5 separate regions of the Homo sapiens genome follow, and regions 2, 3, 4 and 5 are each linked to region 1. Evidence: promoter capture Hi-C in human tissues and cell types (Jung and others, 2019). All regions are on one chromosome and are shown on one strand. Each heading gives the region's core, a stretch centred on a gene start or on the middle of the fragment in contact. The rest is flanking DNA. Distances are from core to core; before and after follow the strand shown.

Region 1 (2,682 bases), core at 88-2,587:
AATCCCATTTGTTGGAATGTTTTTTATGCGGTCAGGAGCTACAATAGAACTATAACGACCCATAAAGGAGATACCACCAACGAATTATTTCTAAAACAGATAACCATGATTATACAAACTTGGGGAATTCGTTTCAAAACGGAAAAACAGTCTATTACCTACAGCCTCACTTCCTAGGACTGGACAAGTACAAAGAATCAAACAAGTATTTGTGTGTATGGATATTTATGTATCTGCCAAAATTCACTGAGATGAGCTGATTTAACTAAATTAGATAAAACCGAAACCTAAGACTAGGCCCTTTACCCTGATACGTCCTTTAATATCTTCGCTGAGGGGAAAACCAACACCCTGGAGTGGGAAGAGAATTTAATACTGGGAATTTAAATATTGAAACTTGGAAAAAATACTGCCATGTGTGTTTCACTCAAATGTCTACATCAACTAAATATCAAATAGCGCTTCAAACTTACTAATGTGACTCTCAAGTCCTCGGCCAATGCTGTGCTGCTTAAGGGCAGGCAATCTGAGCTCATTACACCAGCTCATTCATTCCACAAAGCACGTCCACGCCCTTAGGAGCACAAGTAATGACCTTGCGCTCTCACAAGAGGGACTGCTACTTCCTCTAGAAAAGTGATTGATCCGATCCTCCAAAGGCAGAATCCCCAATTAACAACTTTTTACTTCTATACGTCAAAGACATGTACAAAGGCTGAAAAGTCCATGCGGCCACAGACCAACTCCCCGGGCCTTGTTCCCCATTTGAAATCCAGCAGCCCAGCCCCTCCTCCGCAGAGGAGGTGGTCAGACGGTGGGGCGACCACCAAAAGCAGCCGAATTTCCAAGTTCTTGGAAAGATAGGGGGAAACAAACTGGGTTTCTGGTCGACAGGCTTCGACTCTCCGCCGCCCCATCCCGCAGAGATCCCAGCTTTACTTACGACGCGCGCAAGTCTGTCCGTGGGTCGCCATGGCGAGGCCGCGGGAAGAGGGGAATCTGCGGGAGGGACAAGAAGTGCGGTAAGCTGGGGTCAAAGGGCCAAAGGGAGATCCCGGGCAGAGAGGGGCGAGGGGCCGCGGGGCAGCGCGGCCATCTTAGGAAGCCAGGGCCGACTCCGAGTCCGGCGCGGGCCTCCGGCTTGGCCGCCGCGGCCTAGGCCCCTGGGTCGGCGTGAGGCGGGCGCGGCGGTACCTGGTGGTGTCCTGAGGGGGGCCGCCGCCACCGCTCCGCTAGCTGCTGAAGCCGCTTGGCACGCTCGCGGTCGGGCTGCAGCTCCAGCAGCTGGAGGGCGAAGTGAAGGAGACACCGTTCCGCCCGCCGCAACCCTGTCCTCTCCCAGACAGGACCCCGCCGCTGCCCCCGGGGCTGTCCGCCGCGCCTGTCCCTGCAGCGCAGCCCGCTGCCAACTCCAACCTGCTCCAGAGCGGCCACGTGGACCGACAGCGCCCCGGTCCTGCAGGTGGGCTGCCTCCGTCCGTCGGTGGGGATCCGGAAGGCAGAAGCTGCTGGGCCTTGGATCAGGCAGCTATCCGGGCAGCCTCAGAGGCGAGGGGGCGGGGAACGGCGGAGGCAGCGCGCTGGGGACCGCCTGGGAGGGGGATGGGGCGGAGGCCCCGCGCGAACGCGTCACGGACGGGGCGGGGCGTCGGCGCGTGGCCGGGGCGATAGGGCGCGGCTGCGCACCAGGGTCACGTAGATCTCTCCTACTCCCCTTACGCGCTGGTGCGGGTTCCCCCCCGAAACAAAGCCCTGCATAGGGTGCCTGCGGGGAGTCAGCTGAGCGTTACCCACGTCCATCCTAAGCTAGCGCAGCCTGCGCTTCTGAGGGACCGCTTCTCTTTCCCAGCCCAGGGAGAACGAGTGGGACACAGGGGCGCCACCTCCAGCCCCTCGCGCTCTTCTGCCCTCTTTTCCCACCTTGGTGTGACTGCCTTGCTGTGCTGGGTTGTGTGCCTGAGAGGCTTTTTGGGACTGCCTCTCCCTGAACAAATGTGAGCGGGTCCTAGCGTGCCCCACCCATTTCCACGCCGCCTTACGCTTTCTCTTCCGCGGCTCCTCCCCACTCAGGCATGGCACTGCTTCACACACGCACGGAGCCGGAGCTTGGCGAGGCAAGCCTGCTCCGGGCCCAACCTCCTCTGGATTATGGGCCTGGAGAAAATGTGGAATCATGCTGAGCAGGCGTTAGAATGCCGCACCCGAGTTCCCCGGGTGTGCAGGAAGGGTGACAGAGCTATTAGATAAAATGTATATGGGAGACCGTTAGTTTAGACTGACCTCCTGCATTAGGCCCATCAGACCAAACCAAAATGGGGTTACTCATGCTGAAGTTTCACACTACCACGCCAAAGCTAGGATCTTTATCTGACCTTCCAAGAAATCAGGAGAGAAACAGATGCTAGCCAGATCCCCAAACAGGCTGGGCGCGGTGGCTCACACCTGTAATACCAGCACTTTTGGATGCCGAGGTGGGCGGATCGCCTGAGCTCAGGAGTTCCGGACCAGCCTAGGCATAGTAATACCCTGCCTCTACCAAAAAAAAAAAAAAAAAAAAAAAAAATAGCCGGGCGTGGTGGCTGGCGCCTGTAGTCCCAGCTAATTGGGAGGCTGAGGAGGGAGGATCGCTTGAGCCTGGGAGGTTGAGGCTGTAGTAAGCTTAGATGGTGCCACTACTGCACT
Region 2 (2,682 bases), core at 90-2,589, 1.4 Mb after region 1:
GTGCTGGTGCTTGGATTTAGCCAGGCTCCTCCGAGCACCTCATGCATGTCCCAGCCCCTGGGCCCTAGCCCTTTCCTGCCCTGCAGTCTGCAGTGCCAGCACGCAAATCCCTTCACCACAGGGTTTCGTTTTGCTGGCTTGAAGACAAATGGTCTTAGAATTCATTGAGACCCATAGCTTCATATGGCTGCTCCAGCCCCACTTCTTAGCATTCTTACTCCTCTTCTGGGGCTAATGTCAGCATCTATAGACAATAGACTATTAAAAAATCACCTTTTAAACAAGAAACGGAAGGCATTTGATGCAGAATTTTTGCATGACAACATAGAAATAATTTAAAAATAGTGTTTGTTCTGAATGTTGGTAGACCCTTCATAGCTTTGTTACAATGAAACCTTGAACTGAAAATATTTAATAAAATAACCTTTAAACAGTCCATTGTGTTACTGCTGTTGGAGGTTTACGGCCAGAGGCGTAGATTTTAGCAGCCTGGCTTACCAGGTTGGAGAGAGTACCTCCTCCTACTCCCTTTGGGTACTTTTGAGAATAAAACTTCCTCATGCCTGTAATCCCAGTACTTTGGGAGGCCGACGCGGGCGAATCACGAGGTCAGGAGTTCGAGACCAGCCTGGCTAATATGGTGAAACCCCGTCTCTACTAAAAAATACAAAAAATTTAGCTGGGCATAGTGGCGGGCGCCTGTAATCCCAGCTGCTCGGAAGGCTGAGGCAGGAGAATCGCTTGAACCTGGGAGGGGGAGGTTGCAGTGAGCCGAGGTCGCGCCACTGCACTCCAGCCCAGGCGACAGAGTGAGACTCCGTCTCAAAAAAAAAAAAAAAAAAAAAAAAAAAAAAAAAAAACTTCTCATAAACAGCCTCCAAACAGCGCTCGGTGCTGCGCAGGCGACGCGGGGCGGGGAGGGAGGGTGAGTGCCCTGGGAGCCGGCTGAGGGCCTCGCCCCGCCCCTGGTCCCGCCTCCGGTTAGGCCGCTCCGCCTCTTACTCCTCCCCTCCCCCGAGTGGGCCGGCCCGGCTCCCCCTCCGCGGGGCTGAGTGGATGAGCCCAGGCCTGAGCCCGCCCCTGCTCCGAAGTCGTGGTCCCCGACGCTCGGCCGGCAGTGCCATCGCGCGGAGAGGAGGGGGTGCGCTTCCGCGGGCGGGGCGCGGAGCCCGCCGTCTCGGAGGCCGCGGCTCGGCCCGGCACTGCGGAGGGCCGCTTGATTTCCCGGAACCCAGGTCGCGCGGCTGCTAGGGCCGGAGCCGGTGGATCCGAGCGGGTGCCACCAGCGGCGGCGCGCCGCCTCCCCCGGTGGGAGCGGTGGTTGGGCCAGGCTGCGGCAGAGCGTTCGCTCGGAGATGGCGGAGCAGCCGCGACGCGGCCCGTGGCCCCGAAAGCAGGGAAGCCGGGCAGCCCCGGGACGCGGCGGAGCCCGGGGACAGCGGGGACGCCGCCCAGTCCTCCGGGTGAGCCGCCCCTGAGGAGACCCCCCCGCCCACGGTCGCGCTCAGGCCCCCCCAACAGACTCCCTTGGATGTTGCCACCATCACCACCCGCAGGGTCGTCCCGGGCGGCCCAGCGTGCGCCGCGCCCCGGGTCCTTTCCGCCGGCCTCCCTCAGAACCGCCTCGCTCCCCTCCGGACCGGGCGGGCTCCCTTCTTCCCGCAGGGCTCTCCCAGCCCAGAGGCTGTCTCGATGTCACCCCGGAGTCGCCGCCGCGCGCCTGTGGCCCCTTCCCCTTTGGTGTCCCACATCCGGTGCGCTCTTCGCATCCACCTGTGCCCCCGTCTCCTCTCGGCGGGGCCCCTCCACCCGCCAGCCCCGGGCCCCCTCGGCGCCCGCAGCCTCCGCGCCGCTGCTCCGGCCGTCCCGGCCTCCCCAAGCCCGGGCCCGGCCCCGGCCCCCGTCTGGCTTCGCCGTCCTCAGAGATCTCCCGCACACACCCACCCCGCCCAGCCCTGCTGGCCCTCAGTGTTCACTGGCCCGGCCTGCGGCGCTCCCGGCGCCCCTTCCCTAAACCTTGCTGCTTCTTCCAGGTATGAAGCTAAAATGCAGCGGCTAAGAACGCGGCTCTGGAGCTTGACAGGCCTGACGTCGAATCCCAGCCCTCCCACCAACTGAGCTGTGTGATCCTGGGCAAGGTTCTAAGCTTCTCTGAGTTACTCATATGTGAAATGGGGATAATGGAGCATGTACCTTTTCCCTACCTCTTAGGGCTGGTGTGAAGATTAAATATATGTGAAGCTCTTAGAAGAATGGCTGGCAAGTTGTAATTTCTCAAATACGGGATGATACACCCTGAGTATCAACTTCCCGTCAGTGACCTCCTCACTACAATGTTTTCTCTAAAGTTGCATCACATTCTTAGCATTCACCCCTTCCCGTCACCATTTTGATCCTCTCCCCCAGCTGTCTTCTCGTGTCGTTTTACCTAGGCCAAAGCTGAACTGTTTTATTTTTATTTTTATTTTTATTTTTTTTTGAGCTGGAGTCTAGCTCTGTCACCCAGGCTGGAGTACAGTGGCACAATCTCAGCTCACTGCAATTTCCGCCTCCCACGTTCAAGTGATTCTCCTGCCTCAGCCTCCTGAGTAGCTGGGACTACAGGCGCCCACCACCATGCCCATCTAATTTTTGTATTTTTAGTAGAGACGGGGCTTCACCATGTTGGCCAGGCTGGTCTCG
Region 3 (2,682 bases), core at 115-2,614, 1.3 Mb after region 1:
AAGAGGTAACGGCTTTTCTGCCAAACCTGTGTCCTGGGCCTGGGCTCAGCTCCTCATTTGGAGGTGGAGGAACTAGGAGGGCAGATTTGCTTTCCTGAGAACAGAACCAGAGAGAAGCAATTGGGAATGGAGCGTAATTTAGAAACCAGTGATGGTGAGAAGCAGCTGGTGGCTCACTCCCGGCATGTCAGTCCTGCCTGGCTGGTTTCTTGAAGAGGAACAAGAATGCTGTATTTAAGGTTTCTTGCTTTTCCCCCCCACTTCCAATGGCTGCAGATACTGGCGGCCTCTTTCCTGGTCTGCTCCTGTCACTGCCCTCTGAGTGGAAGGGACGGTTGCCCCACAGATTGGCTGAAGAGCTGGAGCCTCAGGCTGGCAGGGAGGCCACAGCCCAAAGCACAGGGGCACCCAGGGGTAACATTATCCTGCCAAAGCCAAACAAGGAACTGAGTGTTTAGAATAACTTTAAGAAAGTTGTGGGCGTTTTCTCTGTCAGGGAAACCAGAAACCACAGTGAGATAATGGATAGCTATATTCAGGTCACAGATTATCAGCTGCCACTGCTGCTTCCTGTTCAAATTTGATGAAACTTCTTTCTAGTCACTGGAGCCTCCTGGATTCTGCGGGCATGTCAGCATTTAGTGATGTGGGACTCAGAGTTCCACCTAAGGACCTGACATAACCCGGGGGCAGAAACCGTTCTTTTGGGGTGAGGCTTCAGGGGCCAGCTCCTGGTGGAGGAGATGGTAGGTAAGGGGCCAACAGTAAGAATACAGTTTCCCGAACTTTTAGGGTGCTTCAGGCTCTTGGGCTAGGAGATTTTTGTGCATTATCTCATTTGACTCTCAAACCACCCTATGAGAGAGGTACTATTAGGATCCCTTATTTATTTATTTTATTTTATTTTAGAGACAGGGACTTGCTCTGTTGCCCAGACTGGGGTCCAACGAGGCAATCAGGGCTCACTGCAGCCTCCACCTCCTGGGCTTAAGGGATCCTCCCACCCCAGCCTCCTGAGTAGCTAGGACTATAGGCTCATGCCACCACACCTGGCTAATTTAAAAATTTTTTTATTTTGTTGAGACAGGCCTCACTTTGTTGCCCAGGCTGGTCTCAAACTCCTGGCTTTGAGCAATCCTCCCGCCTTGGCCTCCCAAATTGCTGAGATTATAGGTGTGAGCCACCTAGCCTGGCCTGTGATCCTCATTTTATGGGTGAGGAAAGGGGCTCAGAAATGTTGTCAATTGTCCAAGGGTCACAGGGGCAGAACTGGAAACCAAAATCAAAATCAGGATTTTTTTTTTACTTTCTTTCTTTCCCTCTCTTTCTTTCTTCCTTTCTTTCTTTTCTTTCTTTCTCCTCTTCCTCCTCCTCCTTTCTCTCTCACATAGTACTTTATTGAACTATAACTTACATATACCTACTATGTAATATATTAGGCCATGTCCACATAATTGTCCACATAATATGTGGTATACACTTATACCATTATGTCCATGTAGCCACCACCCGGATCAAAATGAGACTATTTCTATCACACTCCAGAGTTCCTTCATGCCCCTTTCCAGCAAATACTCACTCCCCCTAGCCTCCAATGTAACCAATATTCTGACCTCTATTCTCATAGATTAATTTTACCTATTCTCGAACTTCGTGTAAATAGAATCATATTCTTGTCCAGGAGTGATGGCTCACACCTGTAATCCTAACACTTTGGGAAGCCGAGGCAGGCAGATTGCCTGAGGTCAGGAGTTCGAGACCAGCCTGGCCAACATGGTGAAACCCCATCTCTACCAAAAATACAAAAAGTTAGCTGGGCATGGTGGCACACACCTGTAGTGCCAGCTACTCAGGAGGCTAAGGCATGAGAATCACTTGAACCCAGGAGACAGAGGTTGCAGTGAGCTGAGATTGCACCACTGCACTCCAGCCTGGGCAACAGAGCTAGACTCTGTCTCCCAAAAAAAAGAAAAAGAAAAAATAGAATCATATTCTTGTATGTGGTTTCTTCTGTTCCATATAGTATGTCTGTGGATTTTCCCACATTGCTGTACCAGCAGTATGTTCCTTTTTTATGCTGAATTGTATTCCGTTTTATGAATCTACCACCCAATTTATTTATCCATCCTCCTGTTGAATACTTAGATTTTTCTTTCCAGTTTCAGGCTATTTTGAATAACACTGCCATGAACATTCTTATTAGGGGGAAATATGTTTAACTTTATTAAGTACACCAAACAATTTTCCAAAGAGATTGGGCCATTTTATATTCCCAACAGCCCTGTACGAGAGTTCTAGTTGTTCTACATCCTTGTTAACACATGGAATTGTCAGTCTTTTCATTTTAGCCATTAGAGTGAGGGTGAGAAATCAGGTCTTTCTTATTCCAAAGCCTATGCAGCATCATAAAACACTCAATCTGGCTGGGCATGGTGGCTCATGTCCGTAATCCCAGTACTTTGTGAGGCCAAGTGGGGGTGAATCACCTGAGGTCAGGAGTTCAAGACCAGCCTGGCCAACATGGTGAAGCCCTGTCTCTACTAAAAATACCAAAAAAAAAAAAAAAAAAGCCATGCATGGTGGTGCACACCTGCAATCCCCACTGAGGCAGAAGAATCGCTTGAACCTGGGAGGTGAGGTTGCAGTAAGCCAAGATTGCACCACTGCACTCCAGCCTGGGCA
Region 4 (2,682 bases), core at 59-2,558, 1.1 Mb after region 1:
GTAATGATGGCTTATTGTGAATTATAGTCAATATCTTCTCTTCCATGAGTCCCCTTTTCATTATAACATTCCATCTTATAGAATAATAGATTTTTGCCAGGCACGGTGGCTCACACCTGTAATCCCAGCACTTTGGGAGGCTTAGGCAGGAAGATCACTTGAGCCCAGGAGTTCAAGACCAGCCTAGGCAACATAGCAAGACCCCATATCTATCAAAAATTTAAAAGATTAGCTAGGCATGGCTTCCTTAATCCTACCTATTCAGAAGGCTGAGGCAGGAGGATTGCTTGAGCCCAGGAGTTCAATGCTGTGGTGAACTATGTTCACACCACTGTACTCCAGCCTGGATGGCAGAGGGAGACCCTGTCTCTTAAAAAAAAAGAGATATCTTTCTATTATGGATCCTATTTCTTAAAAGTTAACTTAGTCCATTTCATAATACACTTGCCACATTTTAAAATTCTATTGAAGCCGGGCGCGGTGGCTCACACCTGTAATCCCAGCACTTTAGGAGGCTGAGGCGGGTGGATCACGAGGTTAGGAGATCCAGACCATCCTGGCTAACACAGTGAAACCCCATCTCTACTAAAAATACAAAAAATTAGCTGGGTGTGGTGGCAGGCGCCTGTAGTCCCAGCTACTCGAGAGACTGAGGCAGGAGAATGGCGTGAACCCGGGAGACAGAGCTTGCAGTGAGCCCAGATAGCGCCACTGCACTCCATCCAGCCTGGGTGACAGAGCAAGACTCCGTCTCAAAAAAAAAATTAAAAAAAAATAAAATTCTATTGAAAATGGTTTTGGTTGGTTTGTTTTATTTTGTTTTTGAGACAGAGTCTCACATTGTCGCCCAGGCTGTAGTGCAGTGTTGTGGTTTCAGCTCACTGCAACCTCCGCCTTCTACGTTCAAGCGATTCTCCTGCCTCAGCCTCCCAAGTAGCTGGGACTACACGCACACACCACCACGCCTGGCTAATTTTTTGTATTTTTAGTAGAAACGGGGTTTTGCCATGTTGCCCAGGCTGGTCCCAAACTCCTGAGCTCAGATAATCTACCCACGTCAGCCTCCCTAAGTGCTAGGATTACAGGCATGAGCCACTGCGTCCTGCCAAATGTTTTAAACTCATATCCAGTCATCTTACAGGGTTGGCTCCATAAAGGAAACAGTTTAATTTTCCTTAGAATTAGCATATTCTGGCTGGGTATGGTAGCTCACACCTGTAATCCCAGCACTTTGGGAAGCTAAGGTAGGCGGATTGCTTGAGCCCAGAAGTTTGAGACCAGCCTGGGCAACATAACAAGACCCTGTCTCTACAAAAAAAATACAAAAATTAGCCAGGCGTGGAGGTGCATGCCTGTAGTACCAGCTGCTTGGGAGGCTGAGGTGGGAGGATTGCTTGAGCCCAGGAGGTTGAGGCTGGCTATCATAGCACCACTACGCTCCAGCCTGGGTGACAGAGCAAGACCCTGTCTCAAAAAAAAAAAAATTATATTCTACAGTGGCATACCTGTAGTCTCAGTTACTCTGGGGACCAGCTGGGACTAGCTAGTCAGACTTTATCTCTTAAAAATAAAAGAATTATTATTATATTCCAGCCAGAGTTAAGTATGGACCTTGTCCCCTGACCTGTTAATAGAGATGTAAAGCTTCAGTTAATCTGACACCCAGAGGGTATCTCTATTGTTCTAGATGTAGTGATTGTTGGGCTAGGTGTCATGGCACGCACCTATATTCCCAGCTATTTGGGAGGCTAGGGCAGGAGGATTACTTGAGCCCAGGAGTGAGGCTGCAGTGAGCTATGATCATACAACTGCACTCCAACCTTGGCAACAGAGCAAGACTCTGTCTCTAAAAACAATAAATAAAAATAAAAAGATACAGTGATAGGTCTAGTGAAGACTCATATTCCATTGATGTTATCTTCCTTTTTTTTTTCTTTCTTCAGGATCTACAGTCTTTGCAGAAATTCAGGGGGTCATTGATGCTTGCATTAAACTATCTGGAATGCCTGATCTCTCCCTTTCTTTCATGGTAAGTTTTATTCTCCTGTTTTATAGCCCCTTGAATGCCTAATACATGTGAAGTACTAAATGAAATGATAAATATTGAGATAAGTTTGCATCTTAGATTGCAAAGGATTATCTCAGAAATATTCCTAGCAGAGTTTCCTAAGACAGTCGCTTACATGATGAGCGTGGTCTTTGTGGAAAGACTAAGGGAGGTCTTTGCCTGAGTGTGCTAGAAGGGGCTTAAAATTGGCTGGCTGGCTTCTGCAAATATCCAGTATCATTTTTACTGAATAATTATTTGCTTTGCTGATATGAAAGGACACTGGTCTTTTGTATCATTTTAGAGTCAGCATGATATACTGCTAGGAACAATTAAGAGAACTGACTTCTGGTGTTGTCACCAGTTTGCTCTGACCTTAAGTCCTCTGAACCTCAGTTTTTTAATCTGTTAAAGGGAAATAATACTACTTGCCTTTTCTCCTTTATAGTTATTGAAATTCAAATAAAATAATGTACATAAAATATTTACAAACTTTAAAGCATTATGAAACTATAAGGTTGTGTAGATGTGGTCATAAACTCTTCCATGACTGCTTTATCTTCAGGGAACATATTTGTCAAGGTATCTGAGTACAGTTCCCATATTCATTATAGTCTATGAACGACTGTCTTCTG
Region 5 (2,682 bases), core at 80-2,579, 1.0 Mb after region 1:
CCCATCCTGGGTGACAGAGCAAGACCCTGTCTCCAAAAAAAAAACAAAAAACAAAACACACATACACAAAAACACCAATGTCATACTGGCATAAGGACAGACATATGTATCAATGGAATAGAATGGAGTCCAGAAATTTACCCATATATCTATGGTCACCTGATTTTGTCAAGAGTATCAAGATCATTCAGTGGGGAAAAGAATAGTCTCTTCAACAAATGATGTTGAGACAATTGGATTTCCACACACAAAAGAATAAAGTTGAACCCTTATTTCATACCTTATACAAAAATTAACTCAAAATTGATCAAATGCCTAAATCTAAGACCTTAAACTACAAAACTCTTAGAAGAAAACACAGGCACAAATCTTTGTGATCCTGGATTTAACAATAGATTCTTACATATGACAGCAAAAGCATAAGCAACAAAAGAAAAATAAAATGGACATCATCAAAATTTAAAACTTTTGTGCATCAAAGGATACTATCAAAAAATTAAAGTAAATCCCCAGAATGGGAGAAAATGTTTGCAAATCATATGCTAGCTGATAGGGTCTAGTATCCAGAATATAAAAAGAACTTTTACAACTTAACAAAAAGACAACGACCCAATTAAAAAATGGGCAAAGAGCTTCAACATTTTCCCAAAGATATACAAATATCCAATAAGCATATGAAAAGATGCTAACATCAAAAGTTTTCAATAGAAAAATGCAAATCAAAATCACAATGAGACATCATTTCACACCCACTCATATGGCTATAATTTAAAAAATAAAAAATAAGCTTTGGCAAAGACGTAGAGAAACTGGAACACTTATGCACTGCCGGTAGGAATGCAAAACAGTGCAGCTGCTTTGGAAAACAGTTTGGTGGTTTCTCTAGAAGTTAAACACAGAATTACCATGTGACCCAGCAGTTCCACTCCTATGTGTATACCCAAGAGAAATGAAAACACATTCCTACACAAAAGCTTATACATGAATATTCATAAGAAGCATTGTTCCTAATAGACAAAAAATAAAAACAACATAAGTGTCCATCAACCAATGAATGGATAAACAAAATGTGGTCTATCCACACAATGGAATAGTCCACTATTAAAAGGAATGAAGGACTGATACATGCTACAACATGGATGAACCTTGAAAGCATTACATAAGTAAAATAAGCCCAAACACAAAAGGTCATATATATAAACACAAAAGATCATATATTATTATATGATTCCATTTCTATAAAATGCTCAGAATAGACAAATTCATAGAAAAACTAAGTATACTAGTAGTTCCCAGGAGACTGGGTTAGAGGAGGGAATAGCGAATGACTACTTACTGGGTATGGGATTTCATTTTGGGGTGATGAAAATGTCCTGAATTAGATAGTGGTGATGGTTGTACAACTTTGTGAATATACTGGCAGTCACTGAATTGTATACTTTATAATGGTTAAAACGATCAATTTTATGCGATATAAATTTTGCCTCAATTTTTTAAAAAGTAATTACTCTTGGGTACAGAAATCAGGGTGTGTGAGGAGAGGGGGGATCTTGCTTTCTCATCATTAATCTTTTTTACTACTTAAATTTGCCATATAGTAGTGCCCCCGTTATCCGAGGTAGATGCATTGTAAGATGACCAGTGGGTATCTGAAACCATGGATAGTACTGAACCATATATAGATAGATAGATAGATAGATAGATAGATAGATAGATAGATAGATAGATAGATACATACATACATACATACATACATACATACATATACACACACACACAAACACACACACACTGTTTTTCCTACACATACATACCTACACATCATACTATGATAAAGTTTCATTTATAAATTAGGCACAATAAGAGATTAACAACAACTAACTAAAAATAGAACAACTATTAAAATATACTGTAATAAAAGTTATGTGGACGTGGTGCATGTCTCTCTCTCAAAATGTCTTATTACACTGTCCTATGGGTAACTGAGACCTCAGAAACTGAAAACAAGGACACAAGTGGGGACTATTGTACGAAATGGCCTCAAATACTTAGGTAAATAAACAAACTGATTTCTCAGCTAAGTTGAAACATTGGAAGTTACTAATAAAGCGGAAACAGCAGAGCTTCATATCCTCTGAATTATATCCTGCACGTTCTCTTGTCTTCTCTAATCATCTTTCTTCTCCCATTATAGCTTCTGAGAGGAAACCAGACTGGGCACATTCGGGGTAGAATGTCTGTAGATTATGATACCATTATAGACGTAGCTCACTGACAGTAGTTTAAAAGTTGGGGAATTAAATAATTAGGTAAATTATATAAACTTTTCTCCTTCCAAATAATAAGCAAAAAAGTTTTAAGTAAAAATAGCAATGTATATAAGTTTTCCCAAGGAAAACTGTACTCAGTTATTCAATAGTTAATGATAGCACACTTGCTATCACCAAACTTAAATTTCCTGAGTTTTCCTTTAATTGAAGACATTCGGTGGTAAATTCACTTCTAAAGTTTTCATCCATTCTTCTTCAAATGTAAGTTCCACATAGTGCATATGAAGAGTTTAATACTTACTTATCAAGGAAATCTTTGTCCACTACAGCAGAGATGTCAAGCAGAGGATTTCCCATTCCAAAGAGAATATTTTCTCTAAAAAAACACAAAACACAAGTTAGAAATACTTCT

The links. Contacts are between HindIII fragments. The study calls those that stand out against the background at their distance.
Region 2: the fragment with the promoter of NDST2 here is called in contact with the fragment with the promoter of VDAC2 in region 1 in 1 of the 25 tissues and cell types used here (spleen).
Region 3: a contact is called between a fragment that was not itself captured here and the fragment with the promoter of VDAC2 in region 1, in 1 of the 25 tissues and cell types used here (stomach).
Region 4: a contact is called between a fragment that was not itself captured here and the fragment with the promoter of VDAC2 in region 1, in 2 of the 25 tissues and cell types used here (aorta and heart right ventricle).
Region 5: a fragment that was not itself captured here is called in contact with the fragment with the promoter of VDAC2 in region 1 in 1 of the 25 tissues and cell types used here (lymphoblastoid cells).

Annotation. Positions count from the first base shown.
Region 1 is chr10:75,209,451-75,212,132 of GRCh38, reverse strand. VDAC2 (voltage dependent anion channel 2) reads right to left here and starts at 1,337. Exons shown (of 10, transcript NM_001391963.1): 1 at 1,195-1,337; 2 at 944-999. The coding sequence starts at 974. RefSeq lists silencers at 1,064-1,433, 1,454-1,763 and enhancers at 1,408-1,702, 1,433-2,014. The HindIII fragment of the contact is 11,244 bases long and covers 1-2,682 here.
Region 2 is chr10:73,810,255-73,812,936 of GRCh38, reverse strand. NDST2 (N-deacetylase and N-sulfotransferase 2) reads left to right here and starts at 1,339. Exons shown (of 15, transcript NM_003635.4): 1 at 1,339-1,463; 2 at 2,034-2,138. CAMK2G (calcium/calmodulin dependent protein kinase II gamma) reads left to right here. Exons shown (of 23, transcript NM_001367534.1): 23 at 1-436. NDST2-ZSWIM8-AS1 (NDST2-ZSWIM8-AS1 readthrough) reads left to right here and starts at 1,117. Exons shown (of 18, transcript NR_182658.1): 1 at 1,117-1,463; 2 at 2,034-2,138. RefSeq lists silencers at 825-1,534, 1,835-1,904. The HindIII fragment of the contact is 10,328 bases long and covers 1-2,524 here.
Region 3 is chr10:73,954,566-73,957,247 of GRCh38, reverse strand. No RefSeq gene overlaps it. Among named protein-coding and RNA genes, the nearest start is that of C10orf55, 33 kb to the right of the region's middle. RefSeq lists enhancers at 1-340, 528-627. The HindIII fragment of the contact is 8,231 bases long and covers 1-2,682 here.
Region 4 is chr10:74,129,254-74,131,935 of GRCh38, reverse strand. AP3M1 (adaptor related protein complex 3 subunit mu 1) reads left to right here. Exons shown (of 9, transcript NM_012095.6): 5 at 1,944-2,029. Among named protein-coding and RNA genes, the nearest start is that of AP3M1, 20 kb to the left of the region's middle. The HindIII fragment of the contact is 5,109 bases long and covers 1-2,682 here.
Region 5 is chr10:74,200,728-74,203,409 of GRCh38, reverse strand. ADK (adenosine kinase) reads right to left here. Exons shown (of 11, transcript NM_006721.4): 2 at 2,572-2,646. Among named protein-coding and RNA genes, the nearest start is that of ADK, 51 kb to the right of the region's middle. The HindIII fragment of the contact is 4,846 bases long and covers 1-2,682 here.